Regions from separate parts of the Homo sapiens genome. Here regions 1, 3 and 4 are each linked to region 2. Evidence: promoter capture Hi-C in human tissues and cell types (Jung and others, 2019). All regions are on one chromosome and are shown on one strand. Each heading gives the region's core, a stretch centred on a gene start or on the middle of the fragment in contact. The rest is flanking DNA. Distances are from core to core; before and after follow the strand shown.

Region 1 (2,700 bases), core at 177-2,676, 520 kb after region 2:
ACCCAGTAATTCCATTTTTCAGAATTAGCCCCAAAGTAATCATCAGAGAGAGGATTGTTAGGTCAAGCTTGTTTATTAGAATACCATTTATCGTGGTGAAGAACTGGGGATATAACCTAAGCATGTCACAGCAGGGGATGAGTTAAATTAATGAGTGTACCTCCATAGGATGGAAAACCATGCAATTGTTAAAAATGATGCAGCAGGCTGGGCGTGGGTGGCTCACGCCTGTAATCCCGGCACTTTGGGAGGCCGAGGTGGGCGGATCACCTGAGGTCAGGAGTTTGAGAGCAGCCTGGCCAATATGGTGAAGCCCCATCTCTACTAAAAATATAAAAATTAGCTGGGCATGGTGATGGCTGCCTGTAATCTCAGCTACTTGGGAGGCTAAGGCAAGAGAATTGCCTGAACCCAGGAGGCAGAGGTTGCAGTGAGCTGAGATCGCACCACTGCACTCCAGCCTGGGCGAGTGAGACTCTATCTCAAAAAAAAAAAAAAAGATGCAGCATAGATGGAATGACATGGAGAATGTTCGTGGTTATGGTATTAAATAGCAAGAAAAAAGCAACAAAAACAGTAATCTGGTAATATCAATTGGGAGTTGTGATGCTGTGGGCTGCAAGTCATAGAAACCCCAATTTAAACTGGCTTAAACAATAAAGGGAGCTGGTTGTGGTGGCTTGTGTCTATAAACCCAGCTACTCAGGAGGCTGAGGCAGGAGGATAACTTGAGGCCAAGAGTTCCAAACTATCCTGGACAACATAGTGAGAACCCATCTCTAAAAAAAGATATTTAAAATCTAGCCAGGCATGGCAGTGCCTGTAGTCCCAGCTACCCCAGAGGCTGAGGTGGGAGGACTGCTTGAGCCCAGGAGTTCAAGACTACAGTGAGCTATGATCATGCCACTGCACTCTAACCTGGGAGACAGAGTGAGACCCCATCTCCTATAAAAAATAAAAAATAATACAGTGAGCCAAGATCGTACCACTGCACTCTAGCCTGGGCAATGTGAGTAAGACCCTGTGTCAAAAAATAATAAAAATAAAGGGGCTGGGCCCAGTGGCTCATGCCTGTAATCCCAGCACTTTGGGAGGCCGAGATAGGCAGATCACTTGAGGTCAGGAGATGGAGACCAGCCTGGCCATCATGGTGAAACCCCCTCTCTACTAAAAACACAAAAACTAGCTGGGCATGATGGTGCACACCTGTAATCCCAACTACTTAGGAGGCTGAGGAAGAGAATTGCTTGAGCCCGGGAGGTGGAAGTTTCAGTGAGCCAAGATTGCGCCACTGCACTCCAGCCTGGGTGCCAGAGCGACACTCAGTCTCTAAATAAATAAATAAATAAAGGGACTCTGTTGGCTCAAATAATTTTAAAAGTCCAGGACAGGCACAGTGGCTGACGCCTGTAATCCCAGCAATTTGGGAGGCTGAGGCGGGCAGATCACCTAAGGTCAGGAGTTTGAAACCAGCCTGGCCAACATGGCGAAACCCCGTCTCTACTAAAAATACAAAAATTAGCCAAACGCAGCGGTGGGCACCTGTAACTCCAGCTACTCGGGAGGCTGAGGCAGGAGAATCGCTTGAACCTGGGTGGCGGAGGTTGCAGTGAGCCAAGATCGTGCCACTGTACTCCAGCCTGGGCGACAGATTGAGACTCCATTTCAAAAAGAAGAAAAAAAAAGTCCAATGGCAGGTGGGGCTTCAGGTGAAGTTTGATCCAGTTAATGAAGTCACCAAAGCCTGGTGTCTCTCCATTCTGCTTTCCATAATGTCAGTTTATCAGTAGGCCAATTTTCTACATGGTGTAAAGATGGCTGCCAGCAGTAACTAGAGCCATTGGCCTCTTCATTTACATCTAATGGAAGGAAGATCATCTTTTTTGGCAGCCTCCTCAGGAGAGAAAATAAGCTTCCTTTCCCAAAAGCCCTGAGCAAAAATTTCCTTGTATCTTGCTAGTTCATTCGTGATCTAATCATGTGCCTGGGGAAATGGGAATTGCTTACTGGCTTAACCAACTGGGACCCATTCCTGAAGCTGAGGGTGGGGTCCACCATATTCCAGTTCCTGTTAAGAAGGAGATGGGCTGCAACCTTAACAGGATCCTAACCCTAACCCTAACCCTACTGTGTTGCTGGACATTGTGGCAGCAACACAGTAACCAACCAATTCTATAAAACATGTATAGGCCCAGTCTTGGTGGCTCACGCCTGTAATCCCAGCACTTGGGAGGCCAAGGCATGTGGATCACTTGAGTCCAGGAGTTCAAGACCAGCCTGGTCAACAAGGCAAAACCCTGTCTCTACTAAAAATACAAAATTAGCTGGGCATGGTGGTGCATGTCTGTAATCCCAGCTACTCGGGAGGCTGAGGCAGGAGAATTGCTTGGACCAGAGGTGGAGGTTTCAGTGAGCTGAGATCATGCCACTGCACTCCAGCCTGGACGACAGAGTGAGACTCCATCTCAAAAAATAGATATAGCTATATAAAATATATAACACGTATATGTAAATATACATGTATATAAATATATATGCATATTATATACAACATGTATATAAATATATATGCATATTATATACAACATGTATATATAAATATATATGCCTAGACCCCCGCCCCCACCAAAAAATATCTATAAGGAAACAAACCAATAAGTCAGAACGATTATTTCTTGGTGGATGAAATTATAGGTAAAT
Region 2 (2,700 bases), core at 99-2,598:
TATAGCGTTTTCCATTACCTTATGCCACACTTATCTCTGTCACCATGCTTATCCTTATAAATGTTAAGGGAATAAATAGTTCTCAATGGGGTACTCCCTGGGTATGTGCTGGGGGGAGGAGAGTTCAGCAATGTTTGGAGACATTTTTGGTTGCTGGGTGCTACTGGTATCCAGTAGGTAAAGGATCAGGGATGTTGCCAAATATCCTACTACACACAAGACAATCCTTCCCACAACAAAGACTCATCTTTGTTGATTCTGGCTCTGAAACCCAGCTTTTAAAAACTGTAACGATTTTGTTACATATCTACATCTGCAACTCAAGGGCAGGTTTTCCATCTTGTATCTTTGCAGTTCCGATGGCTAGCACTGGATACTCAATGTAGTGTGTTGGGTTAAGAACACTGGCAATAGAAACTTTCACTCTGAAAGAAACACTTAAGCCAACTATATATTCCTCATTCCCATTCCCTTCCCAGTCTTTTCATGTCACTGGGCCGATTCTCCATACAGCCACAAGAACTCCCTGAAAAACTCTAATCGTGTTACTCCTCCTTTTTTTCCTACTGCACGTAGAATAAAATCCAAGCTCTACACTATTCCTACTGCACTTAGAATAAAATCCAAGCTTACAGGCCTTGCACGATACAGTACGTGTCCAACCCCAATCTTATCAGATGCCATTCTTTTCTTGGTTTACATGCGAGTCATCCTAATGTCCTTCCAACTCCTTACACACAGCAAGCCTTCCCTGCCTACTGATCTTGGCACTTGGTTTCCCTTGTCAGGCCTGCTCGCTAAGCACTCCCATGCCCCAGAACCCATCCAAGACGTTCTGATCTTTCCCATTTCAGCCGAAATGTTATGCCTCGAAGAGAACTTCCAAGACAACACTAACCAACTAATGTAACGGTGCAGTAACGGTGAGCTCTACGTAATGTTTATCACCCTTTCGGTAAATAGTGGTCCCACGGCTCGGCCTGCTTTTGGAATGAAGCTACGCTTGGTAAGTTCAACTCTCTTTCACAGCCCTCTCCACAGAAAGAACTCTGGAGTTCGTTCTCGGATTTCACTAAACGAATACTGCCATCCTTGTCCATTCTCGGACCCCTTCTCGCAGCTGATTACGGTCACGTCGATCCCGTCTTTCCAGTCTCCACGAGACGGAGCCCGGGAAAAGAGTCGACCCCATGCTCTGCCGCCCCCGCACCCCACCCCTCGGGAATCCCCACCGTCTTTCCCAATCACCTTCTTCTTCTCAAGGCCTCCCATCGCTCCACGTTGAGGAGCCGACTAGGGCCGCGCGTACAGGGAGCTCCACTTCCTCCCGCACGTGCCCTGCCAAGGACCCCGAGGACCCTCCCCACCCCACGCTGTCTGTTTGTGCGGGCTGCCCAATGAGATGCCTGTACAAGTCCAGGGAAAGATGGGGATTTCCTCCTCAAGATTTAAAACTATAGTCTGAAAAAAATCACTGAGAACACTCTTTCCAGATCTTTCCCGCTCACAATGGTTACAAACACTTTAAGTGTTAAAACAAACGTGGATATACAGGCTTTTCTGTAATCACCCTGATGACGATTCATTGACTGTGAGCCTCGTTGCATGTTGGGACGGAGAGGGGCGGAAGGCTTAGGGACAGCGCGGTGCCTTCTGGGATGCAGAGGGGCGCCGCACTCCATGGTGCGCGATAGGATTGCGTTGTCAAGGTAACGGTTGCTAAGCGTCGTCAGACTTCGGCTGCCGCTGCTGAGAAGCGGTTCCCGAGGGGCAGGGTGAGACTGCGCTGAGTTCCCACCGGCTTCGGGTTCTCTTTGGTTCATTCGCGGTTATGCGGCTAAAATAGAAAAAAGGAAGACATTTTTCCTCGCGGAGGTATAGAGATCCTAGAGGCCACTTATATTTTCTGAGCCTTAGTGGTGGACTCGTGGTATATTTAAAATGTACATTCAAGGCTGGGAGCGGTGGCGCACGCCTGTAATCCCAGCACTTTGGGAGGCCAAGACAGGCGGATCATCTGAGGTCAGGAGTTCGAGACCAGTGTGACCAATATAGTGAAACCCCGTCTCTGCTAAAAATACAAAAATTAGCTGGCCATGGTGGCACACGCCTGTAATCCCAGCTACTCGGGAGGCTGACGCAGGAGAATCGCTTGAACCTGGGAGGCAGAGGTTGCAGTGAGCCGAGATCTTGCCACTGCACTCCAGCCTGGGCGACAGAGTGAGACTCCATCTCAAAAATAAATAAATAAATAAAATTAAATGTACATTCAACATATTCGAGCTTTTAATTTGTACACATAAATTCTGTAAGTGTTCCTCAAATAATAATTCCAAGATTTATACAAATAGTCACATCACCTTGAGATGGTGCAGTCTGGAAGTAGATGCAATTTTAAGAGGTTTTTTTTTTTTTAAACGTTTCTCCCTTTTTCCAAATTCCAAATTTCGTTCGAAGATGATCTCAAAAGTTTAAATTTGAGGCTCTTGTGAATGTGACCTGGCCCAAGGACTTGGTCTTAGAACTTACACAGAGACAGACGTTAAGCACTGGTGAATACTTGTTTTGAACTATGTGACTTGCACTATCTAATTTAAAGCTAAAATTTAAAACCCAGCAATTCCACAGTTAAAAATGAGATGAAGCCGGGCACGGTCGCTCACACCTGTAATCCCAGCACTTTGAGAGGCTGAGGCAGGC
Region 3 (2,700 bases), core at 146-2,645, 620 kb after region 2:
CAGAGCCCTCCTCCCCAGCACTTTGTGCACACTCAGGACATCGTGAGCCACCTGCCACACCCAGAAGAGAAAAATCTGACCGGCATCCGGTTTGAATTAGAGCAGGAAGGAAGAGAATTGTGCTCGCCTTTGTCTTTGCCTTTGCCTTTGCTTACCCAACTGCTGGGACCAGAGGCAGCTGGGTTGAACTTTGTCTTTGGTCAGGGGTGGGGGTGGAGGGGACAGAATCCATTTCCCTGGGCTCCATCCTCTTTCTGGTCATTTGGACATGTTTCCTGTGATCTAAATCTGATGTAAGGAAATGACAATTGTGAAAGACCCAGCGTGAGAGAATCTGATGGGAGGGTGGGTCATCAGGGACCAGCTGGCCTGGCTGATGATGTATTAATATCTTAATCACACAGAGGACCCCAATCTCCTTCCAAACCTAATGAGCGGAAGTGGTTCTCAAAGCTACTCAGCCAGCTAGCAGCTGCCATAACCCAGTCAGCTGTCCTAACTCTTAGTCCTGTAATCCCTCCTCCTCATAGAAGATTGTAAACTGGCAGCCCACAGGGCAAATCTAGTGGCCAGGTGTGTTTCATTTGGTCTACATGGCATTTTAAGAACTTTTTGATGCTATCAACATTTTTTAAAAGTGGCAAATTTCACCTAAATATCTGGATTTTTGGCATGTTTTGAAAGGTTGGAAGACCTGGGAATGGTAGGCCCATGTTCCTGCAGGGGAGTGCTCGTCTTCCAATGCGGCGCACAAGCTCCAGCGTCCTGCGCTAAACCTAATTGGCCTGGCTGAGGATCTGCTCCTGGAATGCTGGTTGGTCGCCTCCAACTGTCTTTGACTTAGAGATTATTTACTGTCAGCTTACTCATAGTGGCGCAGAGAAGTGGTTTCTCTGAGCTAGAAGCTTCTAAGAAAAGTCCATCCTCAAAGCTGTTTGTGGGATAGACCTGGCTCCTCCATTGTAATATTCCTGATTCCAAACACTACTGGAAAGAGCTCTGAACTGGCAGTTAGCAGGCCTGGGCTCCCATCCCGGCTCTCCTCCTAATGAGCGAAGCCATTTCAATGTAGTCGAACTTAGCCTCTGATCCTTAACTTTCCCTATCTGTAAATGAGGGCGACTAGATGGGTGCGGACTGTCATCCGTGTTGAGACTTCCGGCCCCCGCAGAATCAACCTTACCGGCGGGAGCACCTCGAGGGGACGCCGCTCGCACTAGGGGGCGCCAGGGCCGCTGCAGAGCCCGAGCCAGAGCCAGGGGGCGGGGCCGCGTCTCGGGAGCGAGGCCTGAGAGCGGCGGGGCGGGGCGTCGGCGGGCAGTCCCCTGTGCCAGGTGTGGTTTGGTCCTCCCAGGGCGCCGTAGGCGGTGCATCCCGTTCGCGCCTGGGGCTGTGGTCTTCCCGCGCCTGAGGCGGCGGCGGCAGGAGCTGAGGGGAGTTGTAGGGAACTGAGGGGAGCTGCTGTGTCCCCCGCCTCCTCCTCCCCATTTCCGCGCTCCCGGGACCATGTCCGCGCTGGCGGGTAAGGAAGGGCTGCTCCGCCCTGTCCCGCTGTTATCTCCGAAGTCCGGTTCCATGGCGCCTGAGGGAAACCGGCTGTCTCTCGGGGGTTTCGGGCTGGTTGGGTCCTCGTGGGTCCGAGCTCCTCAGAAAAGCTGGGAGGCGGGGTGGGCACAGCGCTCCCCAGGCATTTGGAGGGTGGGACTCCGGGAATGGGGAGGCAGGGCATCCTGGAGACAGAGGGCTCCGAGGGGCAGGCGGGTTGGGAGGCTTCCCGCGAGTTGAGGTCCCGGGGAGGAAGAGATTCTGGGTCTGCCAGGAATCCAGCTTTTTGGAGGGACCTGGCGGCCGCAGACCCCCAAATTAACCCTTTTTAAGGAAGTTGAAAAGCATGGGGTTCTCTTATAGTGGAAGCTCTGTGGAATTTGAGGAGTACAGGATCCTCTAGGGTTCAGGACAATTAGGAGAGTTACCCCGGGTTCTGGGTTTTCTGAGGGAAATGGAGGATGTGACTTCCCTGCCAAGACCCAAGGCTTCTCGCGGGCATCTTGGTGTCTGGGAGTCCCCCGGGGCTGGGAGCTCTTTGCAGAAAATAAGGGAGTATGGAGCCCCTTGAGGTTTAGGACAGGACTAAGGGTAAGGAGAGATCGGACCATTCTTTTTGGGGCCCAAAGATCTCTGCTACAGGTGGCGAAAGTAGGCCACCTGGGGTTCTGAGTCCTCCTGTGGAAGCTCCCTTGGCCTCTCTAGACTAAAGACTAGAGGGATTCGGCCAAACACCTCCTGGAAGGAAGAGTTGTCTAAGGGTGAAGGGTAGCTTCAGAGTTGGGTTAGTTGCACCTGCAGTCACCTCCCCGCCACCTCACACACCACCCTGCAGCTTCCTGCCTTCCCCATCTTTTCCCCCAGCAGTAGGAACCTTCTGTCTCCTATGTTTCCCAGCCACCTGTGTGGGTGGCCCACCTCTGGGTCCACCAGGGTCAGCGTCCAGAAGCTTTGGAGAGGCGGCAAGAGGGTATTGAGGTGGAGGGGGGCTGGCTATCTGCCCCCTGCTTCCTGGCTTTCCGTCTGTGGACAGTCACTTCCTTCATCTTGAATGCAAGGACTGGGCTACCAGTGGGTCACTTCCTCAGCAAGGGAGCATGGGATTTTCTCTTCACTGGTGATAACAGACTTCTGGAGAGAGCTAGGGGTGGAAAT
Region 4 (2,700 bases), core at 109-2,608, 580 kb after region 2:
GCATCACCTGAGGTCAGGAGTTCAAGACCAGCCTGGCCAACAAGGTGAAACTCCATCTCTACTAAAAATACAAAAATTGGCCAGTCATGATGGTGCACACCTGTGGTCCCCGCTACTCAGGAGGCTGAGGCAGGAGAATCACTTGAACCCAGGAAGCAGAGGTTGCAGTGAGCCAAGATCTTGCCACTACACTCCAGCCTGAGCAACAGAGTGAGACCCCGTCTCAAAAAAAAAAAAAAAAAAAAGCAAAACCCTTATTTTTTAAACTTTTCTCATGACAAAGGGATGGCTGGAACAATTATTCCCCATTTGCAGGTAAGGACACTGGCATAGTGAGTGACAGACCTGAGCCTTAGGCTAAGTCCTCTGGCTCCAGATTATTTCTTTCATGGTGTTATACTAGAAATTCACAGCCCTTGACTGGTATCTGTCCAGTCTGAAGAGCTTTTCTTTAAAACACTATTTTCCTCAGCTGTATTGGTTTGATTGAAATTAAATCCCCTTCATTCATTCACATACCTTAATCAAACATCTACTTCCTGTCAGGAACTGTGCTGTTGGCCCTAGGAGGTATCTCACTGGAGTGGGTAATAGTTCAGTGGATAACCAAACCTCTGTGTGAGTATGTTATCTTTAATAGGGAGAAATTTGAGAAAACTTGAAACTACTTCTGGTTGCAGATCCCTCAATTTTTTTTTCATTTGTGTAAGAGTTTTGGGTAATACTTAAAAAAAAAAAAATTGACTCTAAGTTATGTAACATTTCCAGTTCTGAACAGCATGTTTTGCTGTTATAGGATACTGATTTTCCACAACTCTAGTTGGCTATATTGAGTTGTACAGTTCTAATTGCTCCTGGGCATCAGATCTGTCAACTCATTCACACACACACAGACACACACACACACACACACACACACGTATGTATATATCAGGTGCTCCTGAGGCACCTAGCCCTGTGCTGAGTAAGGAACCTGGAAGCTGGGTCTGCGCTTGACAAGACGCACAAGAACAGATCACTGAGTTACCATTTGTTAAGGACGTTGGCTTGGGTTGGGAAGCTTTGCCTCTGACTAGGTCTGTGACCATGGGCAAGTGACCTAACTACTCTGAGCCTTTATTTAACATCCCAAGGGATGCTAATGATGATACAGTAGTGTTTACCTAAAGGCAGGCCATAAAGATTAAATGAGATAATTCATGTAGAGGGCTGAGCAGTGTTAGCTATGTTACTTATAGTGATAAGAAATATAACAAGTGTCCCCTAATTTTAACACTTGGGGAAAATCTGATTTTCTCTGGGTCAAATTGTATCTAATTTTAGATTTCCTCTCAGTTCATAAACATACACAGTTCTGATGTCTCATCTACTCTGCATTCAAGGAATGATGCTCATTGAGAAAGGAAAGTTGTGACTCATTTACTCAGCAAATTAACCAAGTACCTGCTGGTTGCATATGTCTATGAGGAATATACAAAAACAGTTTACCTTCAGTGAACTCAGAGACCTTAAAAGGGAGGGGGATTAACATTTCATGAGTACTTAACTATGTGCCAGGCACTATGCTAGTCCCGTACTGTTTTATCTCTATTTCTTAGAACTGTCTTGTGAGGAAGATATTAGCCTCATTTTAGCAAATGAGAAAAACAAAGGCTCAGAAAGAAAATAACTTGTCTGAAATCACAGAATAAGTTGCAGAGCTGAGATTTGAACTCAGCCATCACATTCCTCTGTGCCGTGCTAGTTTTTAAGGAAAAAAGTTAAGGAACATTTTATGACAAAAGGCAACTTCTTAGATGACACTTAAAAGTTTGTGCCAGTGGTAGTACAAATCCCATTTCACTCTTTAAAAAAAATTTTTTTTTTTAATTTAAGAAACAGAGTCTCCTTCTGTCTCCTAGGTTGGAGTGCAGTGGCGTCATCATCGCTCACTGCAGCCTTGAGCTCCTGGGCTCAAGTGAGCATCCTGCCTCAGCCTCCCAAGGAGCTAGAACTACAGGCACACGCCACCATACCTGGCTAATTTTAAATTTTTTTGGTGATGGAGTCTCACTATATTGTTCAGGCTAGTTTTGAACTCTTGGCCTTAACTGATCCTCCTGCCTCGGCCTCCCAAAGTGCTAAGATTACAGGAGTGAGCCACCATTCTTGTCCTCCATTTTGTCCTTTTTTAAAAATGAAACATGGTAATTTTTCAAAAATAATTGAAGCTTAAAACCCAACAAATGAACAAAACATTCTTTGTATTTAAAAATAATGGAAGAGGCTGGGTGTGGTGGCTCATGCCTGTAATCCCAGCACTTTGGGAGGCCGAGGTGGGCGGATCACCTGAGGTCAGGAGTTCGAGACCAGCTTGACCAACATGCTGAAACTCGGCCTCTACGAAAAATACCAAAAAAATTAGTTGGGTGTGGTGGCGGGTGCCTGTAATCCTAGCTACTTGGGAGGCTGAGATGGGAGGATCGCTTGAACCCAGGAGGCAGAGGTTGCGGTGAGCCGAGATCGCGCCGTTGCACTTCAGTTGGGCGACAGAGCGAGCCTCCGTCTCAAATTAAAAAAAAAAAAAAAAAGTAGTGGACGAAAATGTGAAAAAGTAGGAACAGCTGGCTCTAGAATCCCCACTCAGATATGTGTTATCTCTGGGCTTGGTGGCTGATTGCCTGTAATCTCAGCAATTTGGGAGGCCAAGGCTGAGGCAGG

The links. The method cuts DNA at HindIII sites, captures the fragments that hold promoters and counts their contacts. A contact is called where the count stands out against the background at its distance.
Region 1: a fragment that was not itself captured here is called in contact with the fragment with the promoter of PES1 in region 2 in 7 of the 25 tissues and cell types used here (IMR-90 fibroblasts, adrenal gland, aorta and 4 more).
Region 3: the fragment with the promoter of LIMK2 here is called in contact with the fragment with the promoter of PES1 in region 2 in 1 of the 25 tissues and cell types used here (dorsolateral prefrontal cortex).
Region 4: a fragment that was not itself captured here is called in contact with the fragment with the promoter of PES1 in region 2 in 1 of the 25 tissues and cell types used here (dorsolateral prefrontal cortex).

What each region holds. Positions count from the first base shown.
Region 1 is chr22:31,115,192-31,117,891 of GRCh38, forward strand. The region is part of intron 1 of LOC105372995 (a long non-coding RNA gene); the gene reads right to left. Among named protein-coding and RNA genes, the nearest start is that of INPP5J, 6.4 kb to the right of the region's middle. The HindIII fragment of the contact is 5,360 bases long and covers 1-2,700 here.
Region 2 is chr22:30,590,562-30,593,261 of GRCh38, forward strand. PES1 (pescadillo ribosomal biogenesis factor 1) reads right to left here and starts at 1,349. Exons shown (of 15, transcript NM_014303.4): 1 at 1,249-1,349. The coding sequence starts at 1,272. RefSeq lists enhancers at 1,177-1,892, 1,372-1,671, 1,892-1,971. The HindIII fragment of the contact is 28,649 bases long and covers 1-2,700 here.
Region 3 is chr22:31,210,903-31,213,602 of GRCh38, forward strand. It overlaps LIMK2 (LIM domain kinase 2), which reads left to right and starts at 1,396. Exons shown (of 16, transcript NM_005569.4): 1 at 1,396-1,522. The coding sequence starts at 1,507. RefSeq lists enhancers at 937-1,116, 2,079-2,700 and a silencer at 1,097-1,496. The HindIII fragment of the contact is 2,868 bases long and covers 1-2,686 here.
Region 4 is chr22:31,172,524-31,175,223 of GRCh38, forward strand. All of the region lies in intron 1 of RNF185 (ring finger protein 185), which reads left to right. Among named protein-coding and RNA genes, the nearest start is that of RNF185, 14 kb to the left of the region's middle. The HindIII fragment of the contact is 3,103 bases long and covers 1-2,700 here.